Linked DNA regions of Homo sapiens: region 2 is linked to region 1. Evidence: promoter capture Hi-C in 16 types of primary human blood cells and fetal thymus (Javierre and others, 2016). All regions are on one chromosome and are shown on one strand. The core of a region is centred on a gene start or on the middle of the fragment in contact, and the rest is flanking DNA. Distances in the headings are between cores, read along the strand shown.

Region 1 (6,490 bases), core at 407-2,906:
AAATGGAAGTATTAAGAGATTAAGTAACTTTACTGAGGTCATATAGTTTCTAGCAGATGGAATGAGAACTTGTGTAGGGCCTGTAACTCCCAATCCCATGTCCTTTCTCCTAAAACATTCAGTGATTCATTCAACAAATGTTTACTGAACACCACCTATGTGCCAGGCACAGTTTTAGGTCCTGGGTATCTGAGAGTGAACAAAATAGACAAGACCTTGCTCTCCAAGAGCTTACACTCTAACTGGAGAGAGACAATAATATAGTATGTCCGGGTGTGGTGGCTCTCACCTCTAATTCTAGTACTTTGGAAGGCTGAGGTGGGAGGAGCGTGTGAGGCCAAGAGTTTGAGACCAGCCTGGGCAACATAGCAAGACCTTGTCTCTACAAAAAATAATTAGCCAGGCGTGGTGGCATGTCTGTAGTCCCAGCTACTCAGGAGGCTGAGGCAGGAGGATCAATTGAGCCCAGGCTGAGGTGAGAGGATCGCTTGAGCCTGGGAGATTGAGGCTGCAGTGAGCTATGATTGCAACATTCATTGCACTAGAACCTGAACAACAGAGTAAGACAATGTATCTAACAAAAAAAAGAGGGTGAGACAGAATGTGTATATATGTTAGTCTATATGAGGCTCTTTGGTGTTAATTTGGCAAACACCTGAAGGAAAAAGGGCAATGACAGAGTGGTGTTCAAGGCAGAGAGTACAGCAAATGCAAAGTTCTTGAGGCAAGAGCATATTTGGCTGTCATTCCATCACTTTTTTCTTTAAGATACTGTATCGGTTAACTATCCTCATGTACCAAAGAACAAATGTAAACATACTGCATGACTTTGAGTGATTAACTACATAACTTTGACATGTCAACAATCTCTTATGGTGGTCATCTTTCCAATAAATTGAGTTGAGCTAGAAAATGTGTATTGCCAAAATCCATTGATTTACTTTAAAAATTAAATCACAGGTTGCGGATGCCCGTAATGGTGGCATTTCCACACACAGTACTGTTGCTGATTTGATGAGACACAAATATATTCCAACCCCATTTTCAAATATTAAAAGTTGGTAGGGTCCTCAACGAAACCTAACAGTGACTTCAAGTTGAAAAAAAATGCTTAAAAGGAAAAAAACAGGGAGAGCCCACCTTTTGGCCTGTATCTCTCAGAAAGAGGGACAAGAGCGGTGGGAACGTGAGGAACTTTTAAAATGTGAGAGCGTTACTCTGGGGAAACCTGGAGTTTACTCTTGGCCTTTACTCGCTGGACTGTCATAGTTCTCACATTTGTGAAGCGAGTCTGGGCTGGCGGCCCTCAAGCCCTATCCTCCCCCGATGCGGAAGTCTTGCTTCTCTGTGCCTCCCAGGCTTGAGAACAGCAGAGTCTGGCCGCTCAAAACGAAAGCTTCACGAACGTCGCTCGCTCGGTGCTGAGAAAGAAGCCTGACGCGACCCGGGAAACTTGACCGACGCACGCCCGCCCGCTTGCCCCGCCCCCTAACGGCTTCCCGGCTTCCCCCGGGTCCTATGCAGAAAAGACGCTGGGCCTGGCAAGCGGGGCCAGTAGCGGCTTCCGGGAGGAGTTTTGGCCTCCACACGGCTCCGTCGGGCGCCGCGCTCTTCCGGCAGCGGTAGCTTTGGAGACGCCGGGAACCCGCGTTGGCGTGGTTGACTAGTGCCTCGCAGCCTCAGCATGGGGGAACATGGCCTGGAGCTGGCTTCCATGATCCCCGCCCTGCGGGAGCTGGGCAGGTAGGGCTAGGCCCAGCCTGGGTCCTGCATCCTCCTCCGCTGATTCCGGCTTGGGTTTCACGTGCTCTCCCCTCCCCTGCTGCGCTATGGCTGGGATCCCCTAAGCCCCCGCTGCGGCCCTTGTGGAGATGCTCCGTGGCTGATTTGGGCGCTTCTCCCTCAGAGTGCCCGTTGATAGCACATGGGGCAGTCGCCACAAACCTGCGGGAAGCCGGTCCGTGGGGGAGAGAGGCGTCTGCCGGCCCTGGTTTACCACTCACCCCGATCGAGAGTTTGCTTCCTGCAGCTGGAGGAAGAGTCCCTGCTGATCGCTTTCTGGTCACTTTTCTACACTCATTTTCTTCTCGAAAATCTTTTTCCTTAGACGAGGGACTTGACCCATCAGTTTCTGTTCTTTGTGATCACTCGTGGAGGAATTGGTTTTTAGCCTTACATTTTGTCCCCAAACTGCCCTTGAAAGAAAATCACCGCTTCTCATTTTCTGCAAGTGACATCACTTGCTGGAAAAGGCAGTTTTTTTCTTTGAAGTGAAGTCATAGTACATACTGAAGATGTGACCTCCCTCGTATTGATCGTCCAGTTCCCGATCCGTTATTTTAGTCAGAAATTGGAGAGATAGACCCCTGGGTCCACAAAATCTCAGCGTGCACAGAGTGTTGCCAAAATTTGGAGACAATTTAATATTTCATTTGCAAATGCATGTTGTCTGTAAACCTCATGAAAACCAGTATCTTACCACAAGGAGGGAGAGGTGTTGATGGCTCTCACACCTCTTCAATACACAGGCAGGCTTCCCTGAACCAGGCCTAAAGACTCGGTAGAGCTTGTTTTGCTTTGTTTGTTTTAATTCTACACTACTGCGAACAAGAAATAAATAAGCTTGTGCTGCTACCGCAGTTAAATTATCATTTGGAATAACTGCTTCCCAATTTCTTAAACTGTTTGAAAACTTTCCACACAAAGTCAAAGCTGACATTAAGCCAATGGGATAGCTACTTCTCTTTCTTTTTGCAGCGCAGTTGTGTTCATTTCCACTGGTTGGCCATCCAAATAATCTAGTCTCAATATATGAATAAAAGGATAAATGAAGGGACCATTCTTGTCGTAACTGCATCACTATTTTTGAGTGTGTGAATTTTTTCCACTTATCTGTGGCAAGTATACTTTGTGTTTAGTTTATAAAATAACCTCTACCTCTCTAAAAGAAGAGGAAGAAAAGTGATCATTGTAGGAAGTTGGTTTACAAATTTCATCTTTCAGGCTCATTGTGAAGCTGAGTATATTTTTGCCACTTTGCTTTAAAGTAGAATTAACTGGTTAATACTTCTCTTCCCTCTTCTGTCTTCCTCCGTGAGTCCTGTTAATAAAAATAATTGGTTCTTGGATTATATATAGTCGGTTTCATCAGTAGAGTTTATGTTACCTTTCATTTATTTGTAGCTATTCCAAGAGAAAGAATAGAAAAACTGACCCACAGAGAGTTGTCTAATAGTTTTTAATTGTCATGGCTTTTTCATTACAACTACTTGAATCAAAAAAGCTAATCAATTTTCATAGTATATCCATGACATAGAATGAAACAAGTGTTACCACTGTTTAAGAAAAAGGGACAGAGAAGTTGAAGAACCAAAGGCACAGCTAGCAGATAACAGAGCTAGGTTTCAGATTCAAGCTTTCAAGGCCTTTTCTTCCAAAATGTTTCCTCTTAATTGACTATGGCAATTAGACTACTGAAAAAAAAAGATATTAGTGTTCTAATTTATGGGCTGCTCTTCCTCAGTCCCTCAGATAAATTTTGTCCTATTGTTTTTTTGCTATTAGCAGTCTGCTCTGCATAATCTTGCTAAATGACCTTTCCACTCTCCTGCCTTCAACTATAATCTGCTATTTGATGACTACTAATATGTTTCTCCAAATCATGTCTTCTATAGAATTGTATATTTACTGTATACTGGTAGTTTCACTGAGTGTCCTATGTGTAGTTAAGGTTCAGAATATCCAATACAAATTCCCCACATGTCCTAGCTTTCACAAGCTTTCTTTTTTTAAATTAAAAAAATTATTTTTCTCTTATTCATTGAAGTAGAGATATCTCAGTACATGGCACCATATTCACTTAGTTCTCCAAACTGGAAATCTAGAAGTCATTCTTAACTATTTTCACATGTGCTTTCAGTCTATGTCCTTGGCCCTCTTTTAATCTGTGCTGTCTTCCCAAGTAATCTTACCTAATCTCATGGCTTTAAATGTCATCCATATGCTGATAACTCCCAAATTTATATTTCTAGATCGGAGATATATATTAGGTTGCTTACTCAACATCCACACTGGGAAGTGAAAATTAACATATCCAAAGCAGAACGCCTGATTTACTGCGCCCTTGAATTTGTTCCTTCTCCTGTGTTATCGTAAATATGCCAACCAAAAGCCTAGGAGTCATCCTTGGTTTTTTTCCCTTGTCGCTTAATAATCCATAAGTTAGTTCTGACAACCATATGTTTAAGATACATCTAGAATCTAACACTTCTCACTGTCTCCACTGCTACCACCAGAATTTCTTACCTGAACTATTACAGTAACCTTAGTTGATCTTTCCATTTCTACTTTTACCTACTTATAATAGATTTTCCACTCAGTAAAGTGATTTTTCATCTATTAGTCATATTGTAAGTTCCCCTGCACAAAACCGTCCTTTGACATTCCAGCACACTTAAAATCAGTATAAAATCCAAACTCCTTACCAAGGCCTCTAAGGTTCTACATAATCTGGCTCAGCCTGCCTCTGACTTCATCACCTTTTATCCCTCTTTTGCTTACTTTACTCTAGTGATACTGACCTTGTTTCTCCAGGATACCAAGGCTGTTCCTGCCTTTAATCGTTTGCTGTTCCTTCTATCTGAACACTGGATGGTTTCATTTAGATGTCATTTCAGAATCACCTTCTCTGATTTTCCTACTTGAGATTGCTTTGTAGTTGTAAGACATTTTCAAATGTGATAGTTGCTATTAAAATGTTAAATGGAACAGTGGGATGTGGAGGAGGTTCTGAGGAGCAGCAGCATTAGCCACTAGAGGAGATTTGATGGTGTAAAGAAGCTAGTCACGTGAATCTGGGATGGAATAGGAAGTACAAAGGCCCATAAGTGGGAATGAGCCTGCTTTTTTTTTTTTTTTTTTGAGACGGAGTCTCGCCCTCTCCAGTGGCGTGATCTCTGCTCACTGCAACCTCTGCCTCCCGGGTTCAAGCGATTTTCCTGTCTCAGCCTCCCTTTCCTGTAGCTGGGACTACAGGCTTGCACCACCGAGCTAATTTTTATATTGTTAGTGAAGATGGGGTTTTACCATGTTGCACAGGTTGTCTCCAACTCCTGACCTCAAGTGATGCACCCACCTCAGCCACCATGCCAAGGCTGAATGAGCCTACTTTTAAAAGGATAGTAAGAAGGCTGGAGCACAGGGAGTAAAGAGGGGAGTGGTATGAGTTAAACAGGGAGGGGTAGGCAAGGGCCACATCCTTCAGCACCTTGGAGGCTAGAAAAAGGAGTGAGATTTTATTGTGTGATGGGAAACCATTGGAATCTTTTAAACAGGGAAATAAGCAAGTTTTTTAAAACTTGCTTAATTTTTACTTCCTTAAAATCCTTCAGTGCTTACACATTGCCTTCAGTGTAAAATCCAAACTACTTAGCCAGTCCTTTGAAATTTAACCTTATCTTCCCTCTTCAGCTGCATCTCTAAAGGCTTTAGCCACATAGAGCCTCTTACAGTTTCCAGTGCTTGGACTACCCTCCCTCTTACCCTTATTTCACTGCCTTGTCCCTTAGGGAGTCAGTTTTGTATCACCTCGTTAAGGAAGCCATGACTGACAGGGCCCTGCTCAGGGCTGAGTGTCCCTTTGTGTTCTTTCTTGGGCCTGTCAGTTCTTAACCATAATTACCTCTTGTTTGTCCTTTAATCTGCAAATTATTTTAGGGCAGGTGCATTCTGTCTTGGTTATCCTGGTATTTGATGCTTACCTCAGAGGAGGTGCCTAAGCTTTATATAATACTTACATTAATACTCAAATTTTATAGTATGCTTTTGAAAAGTTATACCCTCTTAGCTCAGTTCCAGGGTAGAAGTCACAAAATAAGAAGTGCTCACTCCTGTGAGTTTTCTTTCTTTTTTCTTTTTTTTTTTTTTTTTTTGAGACTGGCTCACCTGTTGCTCAGGCTGGAGTTCAATAGCATGAACATGTCTCACTGCAACCTCTGCCTCCTGGGGTCAAGCGATCCTCCCACCTCAGCCTCCCAAGTAGCTGGGACTACAGGTGTGTGCCACCATGCCTGGCTAATTTTTGTATTTTTGTAGACGGGGTTTCACCATGTTGCCCAGGCTGGTCTCAAACTCCTGGGCTCAAGTGATCCGCCCACCTCAGCCTCCCAAAGTGCTGGGATTACAGACATGAGCCACCACGCCCGGCCAAGTTTCTTTCTTCTGATAGTAGATCTAATGAATGGTAATCAATTTACATTTTTCTAAAACTGATTTTTAAAAATTACACAAATAATACATGAGTACATAATCTTTACAAAATGAAACTTTGTAAGAAACTCTGACCACTACCCACAATCCTGGCTCCTCTTCCCATGTTCCTCTTTGTTCACATTTTTAAATGATACTTGTGAAATTACTGTGGTTTATCATAATGTCTCCTGACTTTGTCTAAAACAATTCATGTTACCTTGTAATTACAGATTTTGAATTT
Region 2 (6,188 bases), core at 1,441-3,940, 1.1 Mb before region 1:
TTTGATAAAAATAGGTATTAACTACCAGTCATAGTGCTTTTCATTTCATAGCAGTTCTTGTAGAAGCACAGCATATTTTTTAAAGGTTGGGGGGAGAAATGCCTTTTCAAAGACTTATGTGGGAACATCTGCATAAATAATGGTGATTGGTCATGTGTATAAAAATATTTTTAATTAAATTCATTTTAATTAAACAGGGCATTTTGCTGAATCCTTCTCTGTTATTTGCACCAAGCTTAGCCTTGAGGAAGATGGCTGATTAACAGACCCAAGAACCTATAATTAAAAGCAGGACTGTTATTTTTGGAGAAAAGCCTCTTCAGTAAGGATGACTTAATTGGGCTGTCTCTCATATTTTTCATTCATCGTGGAACTCCAGGTTTAAATATTTAATTTTTCTAACACCGGAGAAAGATTACTCACATTGGCATAATCAGAAAAGTTTTTATTTTTCAGTTTTGTTTTCCTTCAGTTTCTCTGATCATGCTCTCTAATCACTGTTGTGTTTCAATATTTAATTGTGTTCTTCATTGATTTCTTTTGTTTGGATCACATCTTTTTAAAATCATGGATATTGTTCTTTTTCACCTTCTGGCCCTCTCTGCCTCTGCATTTAGTTTTAGCCTATATTACACTTGTGGTTTCTCATCACTGGTGTTATCAATATTCTACACAAGAATTCAAGAGAAAACGGAATAATTTTCTATTCACAGACAAAAAAAAAATTTAAGATGTAATTGACAAAGTAGTTCCTTCAGTACCAGGGCTGGCTTAGAGAACAAAGACAACATTCATTTAATATCGGCTAAGCAGGAAGAGATCAAGATGGTTTTATGCCATATTATAAACAGCAAAAAATGCTCTCATATAGTATAAAGTTTGTGTTCCTGAATTATTTGCTCTGTCATCTATAAAGAAAGTTGGATGACTCTACTTTTAGCATCTAATATTTGGTAGAGAAAGATTGCATTGGTATTGCTGTGAGAGAACAGAAGCAGTAAGAGATATTCATATGTTTTCATTGAATTCCAAGGGGGGAGAAATTACACCTCAGAGGGAGTCAGAGGATGTTAGACCAGAGTACCTCCCACTGAAGCCAGCAGGCTTCTAGAGAGCACAGACGTATCAGCCATTTTTACTATGCAATCTGCATTTCAAACCTGCACACAGTGTCATTTAACAGTACTTGGCTGTATTTTCTGTGTCTTTACAATTCAGTGTTAAGCACAATGGAATAGCATCAGTTTAAAACCCTCTACATAAACCTATGTCTGTAAAACTCCATCATATAAACCTCAATTCTATTCTTGAGCAAATTTACTCAGAAATAAAAATAACAGCTTTGATTTATATTGTTTGACTCTTTCAAAGAGCTCAAAGAGCTTCTACAGACAGTATTTCAGTTATTTTCACATTGTGTTCTTGGGTAGAGAAGACCCATTTCTTAGGTGAAATAATTGAGGTGCAGCAAATTTTAAGATTATCTCAAGGTTTCACGGCAAGTTAATGAAATATAGGTATGGAAGCTAGGAATTCTGTTTCCTTAGATTTCTAGACTGTGTTTTTGCTAGATACTAAACACTAACATCTATCTGAAAAAAAAACTGACTTTTGCTAACTTGCAGCCAGCTTAAAATTATTGAAGCAATGGCTGTACTTGAATCAATATGTAGAAGCAACCCAAAGCCACGGATTGGCAGCAAATTAAAAGCTCCATCTGAATACGTCTACTAGAGAGTATGTTATCTAGTGATAGCAGCCATTAACTAAATGTGTACAAATATATCATCTAATTTGATCATCACCACAGCCGATCAATTATCTCCATTCCAAGCAACAGAGGTTCTAAAAACTTAAGTGGTACATTTACAAGGCTCGTAAGTGGCAGAGATGGGAGACAAATCAGGTCCAATATTCTTTGTCCTACACCATTGCTGTTTCTCAAAATAGAACAGTGATGTGCCAATCAAGCTTTGGAAGAAAATGAAATCCAAGAGTCAAGAGTCAAGTTCCCACTTTATAATTGATTTTATTTAACAAACATTTGTTCATTGCCTGCTATGTCATAGGCACTGTAGGAGCTACTGAGGGAAGGGATAATAAACCAGACACAGGTTCTGCTCTCAGCATGCTCCCAGTCTAAAGAGGGAGGTAGATACGACAACTGGCAGTAGTCTAAAAGACAAGACAGAGGTAATCCAGGCAGCTTTGTAAACACAGAGTACCACCTGGTGGGGAGAAGGCTCTGAGAAAGCTTAAGGTCTCCTGTACCTCAAGCCAATATTTTGCCCAGATGAAGAAGATAACAGCTCAGCTGGAAGAACCATGAGCCATGTTTCTCTCCAGGGCCACAGACGACGTCACCTGCAGAACATTAGCAAGGTCTCCCTGGGCTCAGATACTCTTTGGAGTGTCCTGTCTTGGTAACCCTTAGAGTCACAGTCAAAACAAGGGCATATGCATTTGAAATTATGACAGCCCTCCCCTCATTCATGCAGAGAAGTGTTAAACTCATGATCACTTTTCTTGACATTGTTCTGCCCATTGCACATGCTGCTCTGTAACCCTGCAAAGCACACCCTTGATCCCAGCACTGCATCAGGGCTCCATCCGCATGATTTGGAAAATATACACATTCCACATCTGGAGACTACAGTTTGGAGTTTGGAGTGAGACCCATAGAAATTTAGATGTGGAAGGCCCTTAAAGACAATCTTGCTCAACATCCTCATTTTTAGATGAAGACCCTAAGACTCAGAAAGACAAAGTAAATGGACACAGAATAGGAACTGTTCTTTCCAAATACAGAAGTTCAAGGGAGTAATTTGTGAGAAAGGAAGAGAGATAGAGAAGAGTTTTTAACATTTCTCTGCTTGATAATATCTACTTTTTCTCATTTGAAGTTATTTTTAAGTGTTAAAGGAAAACAAGTAGAAACTGTCATTCCATTTTATACTGGACTGACCCACTAATAGTTTTGATGGCATGAACAATAACAATACAGTAACCACCACTGATGAAGCACTTACAATATGCCAAACATTTTGCATAAATAACTCCAATTAATTATTCTCCAAAAACCTGAAGAAGGGATTATTTTATCCCCATTTTACCAAGGAAGCTTACTTGAAGCTTAATGAGGTTAAGTAGCCTGCTCAAGATCACCAAGTTCATTTGCATAACAGCTGGGGTCTGATCAGAACACAGGTTGGTTTGACATCACAGTCAAGTTTCCAACCACTGTTTTCTACTTTAGTACAGAGTTGTAAATAGCAAGGTCTTGGCACAAAGGTCTTGCTTCAGAAGTTGGAAGCTAGTTATGGAAAGTCACCTCCAGAACAGAATTGGACACAATAATAGATAACAACCAACTATATAAATGCTTCAGGATGTTGAAAGTGGATCAAGCAAGGCTCCAGGTGTTCTGAAGATGAAATTTCGAGAACATACTGAAAACCGTTTGAAGCAGTTCAACAGCTCCATGGACAGCTGGGAAACAGCTGTGGTTGACAGACCTCTCTGGCTCACTGCTTTGGGGAACAGAATGTCTCCGTTTAAATGAAAGCAGTTTATTCTCAGTAATGCTCAAAGACGTATAGGATGGAAGTTTTGAAAGTCAGTGTCCAGCCCACACATTCCATTTATGTGTTAAAGAAGACATTGTACATTGAGACAAATTGGATTCAGTAATTCTTAGAGAGTATTTCCTTGCTGTCTGGTTCTTTTTAGGACTCAGCCAAGTTGATGAGGTCAAAACCATGGAAGAGTGAGGCAACTAGGGAGTAAAATTTAAGAAGGCACTCACTCTCTGGATTATGTAAATGCAGGATCAGCAGTTGTACAACCCTAAAAGGGAGTGCTTTCTTAAGAGAAAGGTACCTAGGATGGGAGAGCAGCCACTAGTCTCAGACTGGGATTTGGTCCTCTTGTTCCATAAAGACTCACAGGTGCCTCTTGGGCAGGATTTCTTGAAAAGCGGCCAAGAAAGGACAAGAATTGACCTTTTGTCTGGGTGCTACAGACAAGGAATTGTGTTGTTCAATTTATTATTTTGCACTGAAATGGAGAAAGCTTTTTGAAACAAGTTCTGTCAGGTCAGTGAGTGGGCAAAGAAGTTCCTGATTACGAGGGCAGAATACAGGAGAAAAGGAGCTGTTCTGATCCTCGAGGAGCTAACCACATGGTGGGTGACCTTCAGAGATTCATTCACTTGTTAATTCATTTATTCAGTAAACAGAATTAATTGCCTATTGCTTTCCAGAAACTATCAAAAGCATTGACAAATGCGCAGATGAACAAACTAATACCAGTGATAATCAACTTTTTAGCCAAAAAGTTCTATTCAAAAAAGGAAGTGAAAGTGTTTATAGGCTATTTATTGGGAGGTGGTTTTTTAAAATGCTACTTTCTTTTTTTATTTTTACTTTTTTTGTTATTATACTTTAAGTTCCAGTACATGTGCACAACGTGCAGGATTGTTAAATATGTATACATGCGCCATGTTGGTGTGCTGCACCCATTAACTCGTCATTTACATTAGGTATATCTCCTAATGCTATCCCTCCCCCCTCCCCCCACCCCACGACAGGCCCCAGGGTGTGATGTTCCCCACCCTGTGTCCAAGTGTTCTCATTGTTTAGTTCCCACCTACGAGTGAGAGCATGCGGTGTTTGGTTTTCTGTCCTTGTGATAGTTTGCTGAGAATGATGGTTTCCAGCTTCATCCATGTCCCTACAAAGGACATGAACTCATCCTTTTTTATGGCTCCATAGAATTCCATGGTGTATATGTGCCACATTTCCTTAATCTAGTCTATCATTGATGGACATTTGGGTTGGTTCCAAGTCTGCGATTGTGAATAGTGCCACAATAAACATACGTGTGCATGTGTCTTTATGGCAGCATGATTTATAATCCTTTGGGTATATACCCAGTAATGGGATTGCTGGGTCAAATGGTATTTCTGGTTCTAGATCCTTGAGGAATCGCTACATTGTCTTCCACAATGGTTGAACTAGTTTACACTCCCACCAACAGTGTAAGAGTGTTCCTATTTCTCCACATCCTCTCCGGCATCTGTTGTTTGCTGACTTTTTAATGATCGCCATAATAACTGGCATGAGATGTTCTCTCATTGTGGTTTTGATTTACATTTCTCTGATGGCCAGTGATGATGAACATTTTTTCATGTGTCTTTTGGCTGCATAAATGTCTTCTTTTGAGAAGTGTCTGTTCATATCATTCACCCACTTTTTCATGGGGTTGTTTGATTTTTTTCTTGTAAATTTGTTTAAGTTCTTTGTAGATTCTGGATATTAGCCCTTTGTCAGATGGGTAGATTGCAAAAATTTTCTCCCATTCTGTAGGTTGCCTGCTCACTCTGATGGTAGTTTCTTTTGCTGTGCAAAAGCTCTTTAGTTTAATTAGATCCCATTTGTCAATTTTGGCTTTTGTTGCCATTGCTTTTGGTGTTTTAGACATGAAGTCCTTGCCCATGCCTATGTCCTGAATGGTATTGCCTAGGTTTTCTTCGAGGGTTTTTATGGTTTTAAGTCTAACATTTAAGTCTTTAATCCATCTTGAATTAATTTTTGTATAAGGTGTAAGGAAGGGATCCAGTTTCAGCTTTCTACATATGGCTAGCCAGTTTTCCCAGCACCTTTTATTAAATAGGGAATCCTTTCCCCATTTCTTTTTTGGTCAGGTTTGTCAAAGATCAGATGGTTGTAGATGTGTGGTATTATTTCTGAGGGCTCTGTTCTGTTCCATTGGTCTATATCTCTGTTTTGGTACCAGTACCATGCTGTTTTAGTTACTGTAGCCTTGCAGTATAGTTTGAAGTCAGGTAGCATGATGCCTCCAGCTTTGTTCTTTTGGCTTAGGATTGTCTTGGCAATGCAGGCTCTTTTTTGGTTCCATATGAACTTTAAAGTAGTTTTTTCCAATTCTGTGAAGAAAGTCATTGGTAGCTTGATGGGGATGGCATTGAATCTGTAAATTACCTTGGGCAGTATGGCCATTTTCATGATATTGATGATTCCTATTCGTGAGCATGGAATGTTCTTCCATTTGTTTGTGTCCTCTTTTATTTTGTTGAGCAGTGTTTTGTATTTCTCCTTGAAGAGGTCCTTCACATCCCTTGTAAGTTGGATTCCTAGGTATTTTATTGTCTTTGAAGCAGTTGTGAA

What was found. The method cuts DNA at HindIII sites, captures the fragments that hold promoters and counts their contacts. A CHiCAGO score of 5 or more calls a contact.
Region 2: a contact is called between a fragment that was not itself captured here and the fragment with the promoter of ATR in region 1, in 1 of 17 cell types (total B cells). The highest score is 8.2, in total B cells.

What each region holds. Positions count from the first base shown.
Region 1 is chr3:142,573,899-142,580,388 of GRCh38, reverse strand. ATR (ATR checkpoint kinase) reads left to right here and starts at 1,656. Exons shown (of 47, transcript NM_001184.4): 1 at 1,656-1,743. The coding sequence starts at 1,685. RefSeq lists enhancers at 1,306-1,405, 1,706-1,865. The HindIII fragment of the contact is 1,226 bases long and covers 1,399-2,624 here.
Region 2 is chr3:143,666,725-143,672,912 of GRCh38, reverse strand. All of the region lies in intron 5 of SLC9A9 (solute carrier family 9 member A9), which reads left to right. Among named protein-coding and RNA genes, the nearest start is that of SLC9A9, 180 kb to the left of the region's middle. RefSeq lists an enhancer at 3,446-3,495. The HindIII fragment of the contact is 867 bases long and covers 2,257-3,123 here.